2 separate regions of the Homo sapiens genome follow, and region 2 is linked to region 1. The links are contacts of gene promoters, found by promoter capture Hi-C in human tissues and cell types (Jung and others, 2019). All regions are on one chromosome and are shown on one strand. The core of a region is centred on a gene start or on the middle of the fragment in contact, and the rest is flanking DNA. Distances in the headings are between cores, read along the strand shown. Region 1 overlaps SF1 (splicing factor 1). Region 2 holds the start of SYVN1 (synoviolin 1).

Region 1 (6,407 bases), core at 7-2,506:
TCTTTTTTGAGATGAGATACTTTCACGACTTTGGTATCATCTGTCAGTTTTTGCCCAGTGAGTTCTGCATTTGCAGCTCCTTGTTTTGGTCTGTTCGTAACTGCAGTGTTCTCCATGAGTATCAGGAAGGTAGGGTTTCACTTAGGAGTAAGAACAGTCCCCAGTCCAGCAGCCACCCTTTTCAGCTGCTGTTCATTGCCAGTTGATGAGGTGAGTGTCATCTGCCTCTCTGGACAGGCCCCAGTGGAGAACACCGCAGGTACTGTAAACCAAGTACTTTTCACAGCGTGGCCTTTCACCATAATTTTATATTTCTCCCCCTAAAATGTGGTCTTTTACTTTTTATAGGTACTTTCTGAAAAAAAAAAAATGACAAAAAGTGGTTCTGAAAGTGTGTTTACAATTTACCCCTTTTTATTTTCTTGAATTTAAGAGTTTAACCTTCCCTTCAACATCTTTTCTGGTTTGGTCTATGGAGAGCTGTCTTAAAATGAAGGCTCTTGTATTTACTTTTAAAGAACTCTGCTGGGAAAGGGATATTGCATGGATATGGAATGAAGTGCTAGGATAAAAAGGTTTTATTTGCTGGGAGGTTTTGAGAATTAATGACTATCCACAGTGGAATTGAAATTAACCTCAAAATTGCTTTTTTGGAAAAAAAAGTTTTTAATGCAAGTTTTATCTTTATATACCTGTGCAGCTGTCTCAAAAAAGTTCACTTTATAAACATTTCCTACTAACCAAATAAACATCCCCTTTGGAGGAAATTCGGGCAAAGACCTCCTAAACCTACGAGGCTGTGGCCTTCACAACCAAAAAGCTTCAAGGCCAGCATGTTACTACTTTTGAGGGTCTTAATTTCCTGTTTTTTAGACTGCTGAGAATTTTGAGGCGTTGGAATTGTCTGTCTCCTTTCACAGTACTACTAATACTTGTTCTTTCCCCTACTGTTCCTGTCTACTCCCACCCATTCCATTGTGTCTCATATTAGACTAGTCTGGGTCTTTACATCCTTGTGAAATGCCCCTAGTGGAGTGATATCCCAAGAACACAAGCATACTTAGAAGATGGGAAGAGCACAAATTCTTTATATCTCCATTTCTGTTTTTGTGGAGGGCTAGTTAGTTCACTGGGCCCTAAGGACTATTTATAGCTATAATCAAAATAGAATCAAAGGAGAGGTGTAGTTCTCCACAGAAGAGAATGACCCTTTTTATTTAGATCAGGCCCCACATCTCCATAGTCAGCTAGGAAGACTCACCTTCTCCCCTCAGTGAAGGTGACTTTCACCTCGAGTTGTTGAGCTTAATACTCAACTGCAAAGTCAGAACTTTTTAGGCATAAAGGAGCTTGGGGAACCATGTGTCTTACTACTTTTCTGTCTCCCACGGTACATACTGCTTTGTCCAGGATGCCCTCAATATCTTTTTTTTTTTTTTTTTGAGAGACTGAGTCTTGCTGTGTCGCCAGGCTGGAGTGTAGTGGTGCGATCTCGGCTCACTGCAACCTGCGTCTCCCGGGTTCAAGTGATTCTCCCACCTCAGCCTCCCAAGTAGCTGGGACTACAGGCGCACGCCACCATGCCCAGCTAATTTTTTTTGTAGTTTTAGTAGAGACGGGGTTTCACCATGTTGGCCAGGATGGTCTCGATCTCTTGTCCTCATGATCTGCCTGCCTTGGCCTCCCAAAGTACTGGGATTACAGGTGTGAGCCACTGTGCCCGGCCAGTATTTTCTTTCGATAATAATGGGTTTTCATTTCTTCAGGGTTTTAGTGTGTGGGTGTGGTATAGCCCTGTGGATGTATTTAAAGTTAGAAGGAATCTTTGGTTAGACACGCATTAATCCTATCTTGGAGCCAGCTCAGTTTTAACCCAACCTAGTAACATTTGCCCTTATTGGAGATGCCTGCTGAAAATTCTCAGATGCTGCGAAGGTAAGGAACAGGTGGTTATTCCGCATGTTGAAGAAAGCTGCTCTGGCTCTGCAGTTCCCATTATCTTGGAAAATCAGCTGTGTAACATTTCCCTGGCGTCACTGGCAACTTTTGTGAAACCCTCATCTCTCTTTTTCATGCACAGCCTCATTGGTCAAGGCCCGAGGGCCAAGTACATTGTCCTTGAACACACATTCCATTCTTCTACACGCCTGCTCCCCATATGAACAGTGAGCCTGAAAACAAATTCTTAGCACTTTATGGTTACTGGTTTATTAAGATATGTGGTTTGTCATTTAATATTTGAATAAATATTTCATATAATTGAATAAGAGCTGCAGGTATTGGGAGACCCTTACTAGTACAGGTCTGGTTGTACAGAAAGAGTATGTACAAATTTCTATAAGGTGTTGAATTTTGTTATTAAATGTCTTATTTAAGGAATTTTAAATGTATTAATGAAAATGATCTTTGCTCAATTGGTATTTTTCCTTGTCCCATGTTAATTGGGTCTCATTTTGGGCTATGTTTAACATTTAATGAAGAAAAAACTCAATTCTTGCCCTCAAGTAATTTGATGGGAGTCGGGTATTGGTGACGTAACATGGTTTATGGTTCTGGGTACCAATGGTAAGCAAGCCTTGGTGGGGAGGAAGAGGTGAAACACCTCCTAATAATTGCTTGGATGTTAGCCTTAGTGAACAGTCTTTATTGCTAACCCCTCTTCCAACAAACTGTTTGCTTCCTTAAGTGATAACCATTTTGAAGTGAAAAAAACCTATAGATGTAAAAGGACTCCTGCCGATAGGTGGTTGGGGGTTTTTGCTTCAATGTGTTCACTGATCAGTCGTCCCTTTCAAAGTCTCCGAGTTCTTCATGCTTGTTGTTGAGATTTGAGATGTTTATTGGTAACATTGTCTTTTTTCCATCCTTTTTTTTCTTTCCTAACCTGGTTTCTTCCAGTGCAACTGCAGATAGAAGACCTGACTCGTAAACTGCGCACAGGAGACCTGGGCATCCCCCCTAACCCTGAGGACAGGTTGGGAAACAGTTTTAACCAGCTGACAGTAACGCTTTTACCTTTTTCTCAATACGTTTTACTGGTGGCAACATATTGTGTCAGTTCAATAAAATCATAGTATGACGACTGTACCCTGACCACTTTGGGGATTAAGGTTTAATTAGAAATATGTATGGTCAGTCAACAGTTAGAAAATTGGAATAAAACTTAAAAATGTTGGGAGAATAAAAAGTTACAGGAAAATGGACAACTGGTTTCCAATTGGTAAGCATGTAGATCTTAACCTGATTTACCCACCCTTAGGGGACAGTGAGGTGGCCCGTTAACCTGCCTTTTCAGTACCTGCTTTGGCCAAAAGCCCAGGGCATAGAGTTTTTCTCACAGGTACACAGTGCAGGGACTAAAAATATTTTTGAGCATCACTGAACTTGAGCAAGCCAGGAGCTCTGGTCAGCTCATTGCTGCAGTCTTCCTGCTCATGGTTTTGAGATGGTTTCAAAATCAGATGAGATTTCTAACCAACTTCTTTCACTGCCAGTTAACTTTCAGCCTTGGCCATTGCCTTGGGGGTGTTGGGAGGGGCCAGAATATTCTCACCTATTTTGGGAAGGCATGCAACCAACCCTAAATTACTTTTTTTTTTTCCTTAAAGGGAGCGTGGGCCTCAAACAGCTGTGGTCATGTCATTTCAGTTTGCAGTTTCTCTCACCTCAGAAAAATAAATTGTGTGGGGGAGATGAACTTTTTTAAACTGGAATTTTATTAGCTGATTGAACAGCTAAAATTGGTCATTTAATTAGAAGGGCAGTAAGTCTCTCCCTCTCACTGAATTTTCTCTTAGTACATACAGAATAGTTGAAAAGACTTTGCTTTAAAAAGTAGTGTTTTTGGTTTTTGTTACCCAGTTAATAGCTTATTAAATCAGGAAGATGATGTAATGGCTTTAGAAGTCACTCACTCATGCATCTTTCTTCCGCCCTTTGCCAGGAAACATTAACTTCCTTGTTTCTCCATATTGACTCTTTAATTTGACTTACTACATTTGCTATATTTTACCTATAGATAGATTTTGGTTGTAGGGTTGTGTTGTGTTTCGTTTCTTTTTGAAGATTTTTTTTTTTTTTAAATTTACATTGTAGGTCATAGACCACAACTGTTTAGTGCCTTTTTGGCCTTTTTCCCTTTAATAATATGTCTACAGGTCACCAGTCAATTCCTCCAAAGGTTGAATTTTTAACAAACCTTCTTTGCTTCCTGGATAACTGGGATTAGAATTTAGTTGATCTAGCCGATGCCTGTTGGAGGTGAAGAAGTCGGGCCAGTCTAACCTCTAGAATACTAGCTTTTGCCTTTCACTTCTGCAATTTGGGAGGAGGTTAAACTGTTGTGAGGCCTTCACATGGCCAATTGGGTGCTGGTAAGACTTGTTTTTGTAACTAGCTAAGAATGCTTAATTCTAGACAGCTGTGGGGTGGGAATTAGAAATGTCAAGCATGTTAGAAATAAAACCAGAGCAGGGTTTTTCCTCCCTTCTATTCAGTTTTGAAAGAGGCCCTAATGCCTGATTGGTTTTGCTTTTGAGCCCAGGTTGGAGGGAAATGCATGGGTTTTCTTAATTAAGATAATTTCTTAAAAAGGTGTTATATCACTTAAGCCACTTTATTGTTATTTTGATGCTGCTTAACTTGCACAGTAAAAACATGTTTAAAACTTTTCTTGTAGACTTAAATGTATAAGATGGTAGTCTAATGAGCTGGGGTATGTTTGCTTTTGTTCACTCTTAATGGATTGTGCTAACAGTTTATACAAATGCTAGAAACGGAGGTGTCATTTAGCCGTCATTAGCCATGAACAAACCTGACCTTTTATTCCATCGTGTGTGTAACGTGGTGTGACATGGTTCCCTTTAGGCTGAAGACAGTGGGAGCAGCCGAGTTCAGTCCTTGCTCTCCAACTAGGCAAGGTTCTCTCAACTAAACCAAGGGTATAGGAGTCTTGATTACTTTCAGTATGTTTTTTTAATAACCTGATCCACATGGTCTCTTCCCTTCTTGCAGCTGCTACTAAATTTTCATTCAGAATATCAAGCTATGGTCCTTTTTGTAATCTTAACTCAAAATTCTAGGAGTGTAACCTCTCTTTTTTATTACCGCAAAATCCAGCTGTGGTAAACTGACCATTTTATCATTACATTTTTTTACTTGTAGCAACAGCATTTTACTCCTTAAAAAAATGAGAGAGAGAAAATCTGCTTTCTGGACTTGTAAACTCTGGTGGAGAATCATAGGTTTTCCCCTTGCTGTTTGCAGGTTCAGACCCTAGACAAGTATGACCAAATCTGCATTTGCAGCCTCTCGCAGAAGCTGCTTTAGCACTTTAACGTTTTTCTCTACCCAGACTCCCCAACCTCGAACAGCCAGAAAACAGGTTGTCTCCTGGGCCTTGGACACAGCCAGCCAGGCCATTGAAGGAAAAGCAAAGACGAAGCGAACCATCTCTCTCCATTGTGGGGGCCAAGTAGCTGCAGTAGCCTTCAGTCCCAGTTGCATTGGGTTAAAGAGCTCATACATACTATGTGTTAGGGGTACAGAAGCTTTTCCTCATAGGGCATGAGCTCTCCAAGAGTTAACCTTTTGCCTAAACTTGGGGTTTCTGTGGTTCATAAAGTTGGGATATGTATTTTTTTTCAAATGGAAGAAAATCCGTATTTGGCAAGAAGACTCCAGGGGATGATACTGTCCTTGCCACTTACAGTCCAAAGATTTTCCCCAAAGAATAGACATTTTTTCCTCTCATCACTTCTAGATGCAAAATCTTTTATTTTTTTCCTTTCTCACACACACCCCAGACCCCTAACGTTAAGCCAGCTTCCATCTCCCCATTCCACACGATCTTGAGTAGCACACGTTATGGTCGGTTCCTCCGAAGAGTGTTGTATTAGGGTCTGAGAGGCAGAGGGGCTGGGAAAGACTTGTTATAGTCCGTGTGGGAATGAGAGAAGTCGGTGCAGAATAGTAAACGGGAGTCTGTTTCCCACAGGTCCCCTTCCCCTGAGCCCATCTACAATAGCGAGGGGAAGCGGCTTAACACCCGAGAGTTCCGCACCCGCAAAAAGCTGGAAGAGGAGCGGCACAACCTCATCACAGAGATGGTTGCACTCAATCCGGATTTCAAGCCACCTGCAGATTACAAGTAAGCGGAGGGGCTCGGTCATCTGGGATGAAGACACATGCAGATCATGGGTGACCTGCTGGGATGGGACAGTATTGGTACTACTCACCTCTTGCCTCAAGTCACCCATAATTAGCACTTGGTACCAATATTTGGTTTTAGAAAAGCCGCTGGCTGTGTCATTCTCCAGAAATGTGCGGTGACACAGGCTTTTCTTTCTTAGACCTCCAGCAACACGTGTGAGTGATAAAGTCATGATTCCACAAGATGAGTACCCAGA
Region 2 (6,407 bases), core at 1,974-4,473, 360 kb before region 1:
CCTGCCATGATGGCATGCACTCCACCCCAGCCTGAGGAAGTAGGCAATGCTTTTTGTGATATTTGAGGAGAAAGACGTTCCTGGGAGAAGGAAAGACATATGCAAAAGGTGATGGGCCTGCCTGGGGCATGGTAGGGATGGTACACCTGAGACCCCACAACTGGGCATTATGCCTGAAGGGCAGAGTGTGGGAGGGAAGGCAAGACGTGAGCTCAGGTGTCAGGAGATCTCTCTGGCCGTTCTATGGAAAACGGATGAGGAGGAAAGCACAGGAAAGGGGACTGTTGCATTTTCCCAGGCATGAGATGATGATGGTCTGGACTAGGACACTGGCAGTGAAAATGGCAAGGAAAGAATGAATTCTAGAGACACTCAGGAGGTAGAACCCACAGGATGTCCTCTCTTGCCTATTGCACCGCAAGAGCCTCCTAACTGGTTTCCCTGCTCCCACACTTGCCTTCCTCCCCACTACAGATTATTCCAACACAGGAGCTGGAGTGACTTTTTTTTTTTTTTTTTTAGTTTTTTTTGAGACTGAGTCTCGCTCTGTTGCCCAGGCTGGAGTGCAGTGGCACGATCTCAGCTCACTGCAAGCTCCGCCTCCCAGGTTCACGCCATTCTCCTGCATCAGCCTCCGGAGTAGCTGGGACTACAGACGCCCGCCACCAAGCTCGGCCAATTTTTGTGTTTTTTTATCAGAGACGGGGTTTCACCGTGTTAGCCACGATGGTCTCGATCTCCTCACCTCGTGATCCAACCGCCTTGGCATCCCAAAGTGCTGGGATTACAGGGTCAGCCACCACACCCAGCCTGGAGTGACTTTATTACACCTAAGTCAGAGCATGTCACACCTCTGCTCAGCACCCTCCAATGACTTCTCACGTCACTCAGAGGAAAAGCCAAGGTCCCTGTGATGGCCAATGCGATCTTGCCCTGGCCTCTTTCCTACGCACCCTTCACTAGTTCCACTATAGCCACACTCATCTCCTTCAACAAAGCAGCACTGCTCCACCTTTATTGAGCTGTAACTCTTTACCCAGACATCCACTTGGCTCATAACCTCACTTCCTTTAAGTCTTTGCTCAAATGTCACCTTCTCAAGGAAGCTTACCCGATTATCCTCGCTGATACTGCAACCAGCTTCAAGTACCCCACCACATCCTGATCCCCTTTATTCTGTTCTACTTTTTTCCTATAGCACTGATCATCTTCCAGCGTATTAGATTTTTCACTTATGTCTGTGGTTTGCTGTCACATCTACTAGGATAAGCTCCACAAAGGTAGAGATCTTTATTTTGTTCACTGACATCCTAAGTCCCTAGAACAGGAGACACTTGATCCATATTTGTAGACTAACTGAATAAATGACTTAATTACCAGTTTGGATGTGGGGGCAGATAGTGAGCATGATGCCCGTTTCCGGAGCTGGGGTGCAGACAGTGTCTAGGGACACTGAACTGTTTTAAAAGCAGGATAGATCCCGGCTGGAGACCACACAAGGAAATCATCAGCACCTGGGTCAGGGGCTGGACTGGAGCAGAGGAAATCATGCAGGAAAAGTAAAGAGAAGGACATCAGGTAAAGAGAAGAGGACACATGCATAGCCAGAGAGAAAAGAGGAGCAGAGGCATGTGGATCACAGAAGCTTAGGGAGGAGACTTTCAAGAAGGGGAGAGAGGTTGAGTCAAGCAAGGGCTGAAAGCCAACCATTGGATGCAGTCACTAGAAAGTTACAGATAGGCAAGGTGTTGTGGCTCACGCCTGTAATCCCAACACCTTGTGGGGCTGAGGTGGGAGGATCGCTTGAGCCCGGGAGGTCGAGGCTGCAATGAGCCCTGATGGCGCCAATGCACTCCAGCCTGGGCGACAGAGCAAGACCCTGTCGCAAAAATTAATAAATAAATAAATAAAAAGAAAAGGGGGAAAAAAAGTTATACGTGGCCTTACGGGGAAGCCAACTCTGACTGGTTATAAGCTGAAACTGTCAAGTCAACAGGTGGCAGGGAAGATGGCTGAGACCAACAGCACAGAGATTTAGAGGCAGACAGACCTGGCGCCAATCCTAGGACAGGTTTTGGTAAGCCTTTGAATTTCAATTGCCCCACGTTTCGGGGGAGGGGGTAGCACCCCCTAGCTCATAAACCTTAGTGATTGATGATTAAATGAGATGACGGAGGAAAACGCAAGGCACAAAGTGGATGCATTAGCTCCATTTTGTTAATCAGCAGGCTTAGTTGGCTGCGACCCAGACACGAACTAAAATACAGTGCAGCCCAGGACCAGTGGGGGTCTTGCTTATGGCTCAGAGCTGAACAACACATGGGCAGCAAAATCAGACACTGAGATGCGGGCAGGCCTGCGACGCTGAAGTCAATTCCTTTGAACAAACAGAACACTTCCGTCCCAAGATTAGCAGGAATTAATCTCCCAGTCTCGGGTACACCTGGTTGTCCCTCCCTGTCCTGGCGCGGCAAACGTTCCCGGAGGCCAGCCAGGGATCACTCGCCCAAGGACTGAGCTTTCCCTACTCTCAGCCAACTGGAGCGGGACCAGGGCCTAGGCAACGCAGCTGTCCGCCCCTAACAACCACTCACCTGCTTTCCCCTTTCTATAGGCCAGCAAAGGTACATTCTTTTTCTTATTGGGCCGCGTAACTTATCGCAACCAATCAGTGGCAGCCACGGGACCCAACTCACTCCCACACAACTTGTGGGGGTGATCATGGAGAAGACAAATTTTTGTTTTCCGCATCCAGTTCTCTCAGAGAGCACCGTATTTGTCAAACTGTTGTGACTCTCCCTAAATGTTTAAGAAAACATTTCATTCCCCTCAGGCTTGTATAGTCTGTCCCTGGCCTACTCCCCGCTCCAGGTGGTACAGCCCGCAAGCGGCTCCCCTTCCCAGCTGCTCGCGGGGCCGAGTCCCCCAGTCCGAGGAGGCCACTCAGCGCAGGAGCCATACCATCTGTGACTAATAAATAATAGGGGGACCTCCGACTCCCCCCTGTTGCCTTATTACCTTCCGACCACCTCTCGGACCTCTTGCCCAGCCCTTCCCCGTAGACATCACCCCAGATACGGTGGTGACACCATTGCTATGGGCCCACGTAGGGCGCAGTGCGAGCCAGGGCAGGACGCACTTGGTACGACCCACGCCGCGCCCCGCGCCGCCGGAAGTGAGGTGTCTGACCCCCGAAGTTCCGGTTCGCAGGGGGTGGGGAGTGTTGTTAACCGGAGGGGCAGCCGCAGTCGCGCGGATTGAGCGGGCTCGCGGCGCTGGGTTCCTGGTGAGTGGGGCGAAGTCTGGCCCGAGTTGTGGTTGGGGTCGGGACCCGAACCTTCCCCTTGAGGTCTCCGGAGTCGGCACGCCCCTCAGCCCCGCCGCACGCTTTCGGCCTGTCAGCTGGCCGGAGACCTCAGACGCCGGTGCGGCCGCTTTGCTCAAGCCTGGGCCCTGCCTGCGACGCCCGCAACTCCTGGTGCTCACAGGTGCGCGGCCGCGAGGGCGACCCGGCTCCTCCCGTCCCGCTGCTGCTCTCTCCCGTCCCGCTGTTTTTGTGGTGCTCTGAGTTGACACTACTCCGGGGGTCGGGGGACCCCAGGATTCCAGGCTGACGTTCCCCGCCCGCTCCCGCAGGGCGGGCGTCCGAACTGCCCACCCTAACACAGCTGTCACCGGCGCTGTCGCCTGCCCAGCCTGCTATCCTCTGTGCCTTGGCTGCTCTCAGCCCTGGCTGCGCATTCCCGCCCCTGGAGCAGATTTCTGCTGTTGCCTCCCACCCCATCTTCTCCACCGGAGGGTCAGCGGTGCAGCTCCCCCTCCTCCAACATTGCAGCTTTTCCTCATCACCTCCCTAGAGGAGGCGGCTTGGCAGGCAGCGTGGAAAGAGCCCTAGATTTGAAGCAAGACTGACCCAGGTTCCAGGCCTTGCGTCAGTGTGATCACTTAACCCCTTCGAGTCTAATTTGTAAAATGGGGTAGCGTAAGCTATTCTTTGTCTGATGATTTCGAGGGCGAAATGTGATTTCCCCCCCACTTTCTCCTATGAATTGAGGCTGTGCCAGGCACCGGGCTATTTTGCACAGCACGAGCATCACATAAGTTATTTTCTTGCCCCATGCAGGTCTCCGGGCCAGGGCAATGTTCCGCACGGCAGTGATGATGGCGGCCAGCCTGGCGCTGACCGGGGCTGTGGTGGCTCACGCCTACTACCTCAAACACCAGTTCTACCCCACTGTGGTGTACCTGACCAAGTCCAGCCCCAGCATGGCAGTGAGTTCAGGGCTCAGGGAGGGAGGAACTCCCTGGGAGGGAAGGAGGAGTCTGCCTGGGCAAGGGGCGGGGCTAGAGGTCAGGTAAGTAGGGAAGTAGCCGCCAGCTGCCTAACTTTGAATAAACTGTGATGAGGATGTGGAGGATCCTGCATGATGAGTCCCAAGGAGAGGAAAGCAGAAAGTGACCTCAAACCACAGCCTCTCCCCACTCCTAGGTCCTGTACATCCAGGCCTTTGTCCTTGTCTTCCTTCTGGGCAAGGTGATGGGCAAGGTGTTCTTTGGGCAACTGAGGGCAGCAGAGATGGAGGTAAGATGTCGGCTGCCCCAAAGGTGAGGGCAGGGTGCTGGGAAAGAATGTTTGGTATCCACATTATTCCCTGCCTGGCCCCCAGCACCTTCTGGAACGTTCCTGGTACGCCGTCACAGAGACTTGTCTGGCCTTCACCGTTTTTCGGGATGACTTCAGCCCCCGCTTTGTTGCACTCTTCACTCTTCTTCTCTTCCTCAAATGTTTCCACTGGCTGGCTGAGGACCGTGTGGACTTTGTGAGTCAAGGCAGGGAGTTCTGGAGCAGGTGGAAGCCAGGGAGTAGCCAGCGGGCAGGCTTAAGGAGCAGGGAGGGCTAGGTTGAGGGTGTGGGGTGAGCCCCAGGCCTCCTGACAGGCCTCTTCTGTGCTCTGCCTCAGATGGAACGCAGCCCCAACATCTCCTGGCTCTTTCACTGCCGCATTGTCTGTGAGTGAGATTCAGGGGAGGGGAAGGGAGGACTGGAACGTGAACCGTGGACCTGTACTCCAGAGCACAGGCTACCCCCCACAGCTGTACAGGAAAGATAATTTAGGAAGTTAATTTGCATAGTCTCTGTGCTGTTCCACTCTAGGGCTTCTCAACTGCCTGGGCCCTCAGCCCTTTGCCTTCTCACCTGCAGCCTGGGCAGCCCCAACAACTCCCCCTCCCCCAGGAAGTTCCCAGAGGGCCAGGTTCAGTGGAGTGTGCCCACCTGACTAGATCGCTGGGGCCATGGTGGGCTTGAGGGTGGGGCTGTCCTAGAGCATTAAACAGCTGTTGGGCCCTGGGCTGACCCCCCCACCCTGCATGTGTGGGGGTCCCCACAGCTCTTATGTTCCTCCTGGGCATCCTGGACTTCCTCTTCGTCAGCCACGCCTATCACAGCATCCTGACCCGTGGGGCCTCTGTGCAGCTGGTGTTTGGCTTTGAGGTAAAACTGGCTTGGGAGGTTGAGAGGACAAGCCCGAGGTGACCCCACATGTGCCTTGAATAACCCAACAGACCCTTCCTCAGCACCTGCTATGTGGCCAACCTGTGCTGGCCACCAAGGGGCAGTGATCAGATATGGCTCCTGCCCTCCACACGCTCACTCCTAGGTGACTGGGGAGACGCACAAAGAGGCTAGGACAGAGGAGGAGCCCCAACCTGGGGCTCAGGAGAGGGTTCCTGGAGGCTCGTGCCGGAGCTAGCTGGTAATGGACAGGAGAGGATTAGTTCCATGGACAACTGGAGGCGTGTCCCTGGCAGAGAGAGAATGTGTTCAGTGACAACAGCTCATATTTGTTGAGTGCGAATTTCACACCAGGCCCTATGCTGAGCTCCTGACCTGCATCTCTTATTCAGCAAGACAATACTGTTATAAAGGAACAGTTAATTATGTCATTTTATAGATAAGTAAACTGAGGTTCACTGAGTTGCCAAAAGTCACAGCTAGTAAGTGGAGGGGCTAGGAGGACCCTGGGTGTGTCTAGAGCCTGTGATTGTACCACTGCACCTGCTGTGCAGAGGCCTTGGGGAGCAATGTGGGTGCAGCAAGGGGGAGCTATGTGTTTACATCCCCCTCGTCCCCCTCTCCCTTCAGTATGCCATCCTGATGACGATGGTGCTCACCATCTTCATCAAGTATGTGCTGCACTCCGTGGACCTCCAGAGTGAGAACCCCTGGGACAACAAGGCTGTGTACATGCTCTACACAGAGCTGTTTACAGGTGAGAGGGGCCTGGGCCTCTCCTGATCTGGACCAGCATCCTCCACTCTGCCTCCTGGCCCTGTGACCTGCTGCTTTCTGCATCCCCTCCCCTCAGGCTTCATCAAGGTTCTGCTGTACATGGCCTTCATGACCA

The links. The method cuts DNA at HindIII sites, captures the fragments that hold promoters and counts their contacts. A contact is called where the count stands out against the background at its distance.
Region 2: a contact is called between the fragment with the promoter of SYVN1 here and a fragment that was not itself captured in region 1, in 1 of the 25 tissues and cell types used here (dorsolateral prefrontal cortex).

Annotation. Positions count from the first base shown.
Region 1 is chr11:64,769,997-64,776,403 of GRCh38, reverse strand. It overlaps SF1 (splicing factor 1), which reads left to right. Exons shown (of 13, transcript NM_004630.4): 3 at 2,899-2,974; 4 at 5,996-6,148; 5 at 6,351-6,407. Among named protein-coding and RNA genes, the nearest start is that of SF1, 5.3 kb to the left of the region's middle. RefSeq lists an enhancer at 3,579-3,668. The HindIII fragment of the contact is 3,858 bases long and covers 1-3,185 here.
Region 2 is chr11:65,131,335-65,137,741 of GRCh38, reverse strand. It overlaps SYVN1 (synoviolin 1), which reads left to right and starts at 3,223. Exons shown (of 16, transcript NM_172230.3): 1 at 3,223-3,286; 2 at 4,124-4,272; 3 at 4,490-4,582; 4 at 4,668-4,820; 5 at 4,962-5,010; 6 at 5,391-5,494; 7 at 6,146-6,272; 8 at 6,369-6,407. The coding sequence starts at 4,141. RefSeq lists silencers at 2,544-2,727, 4,444-4,620 and enhancers at 2,713-3,222, 2,581-3,484, 3,773-3,842, 5,343-5,392. The HindIII fragment of the contact is 5,976 bases long and covers 1,377-6,407 here.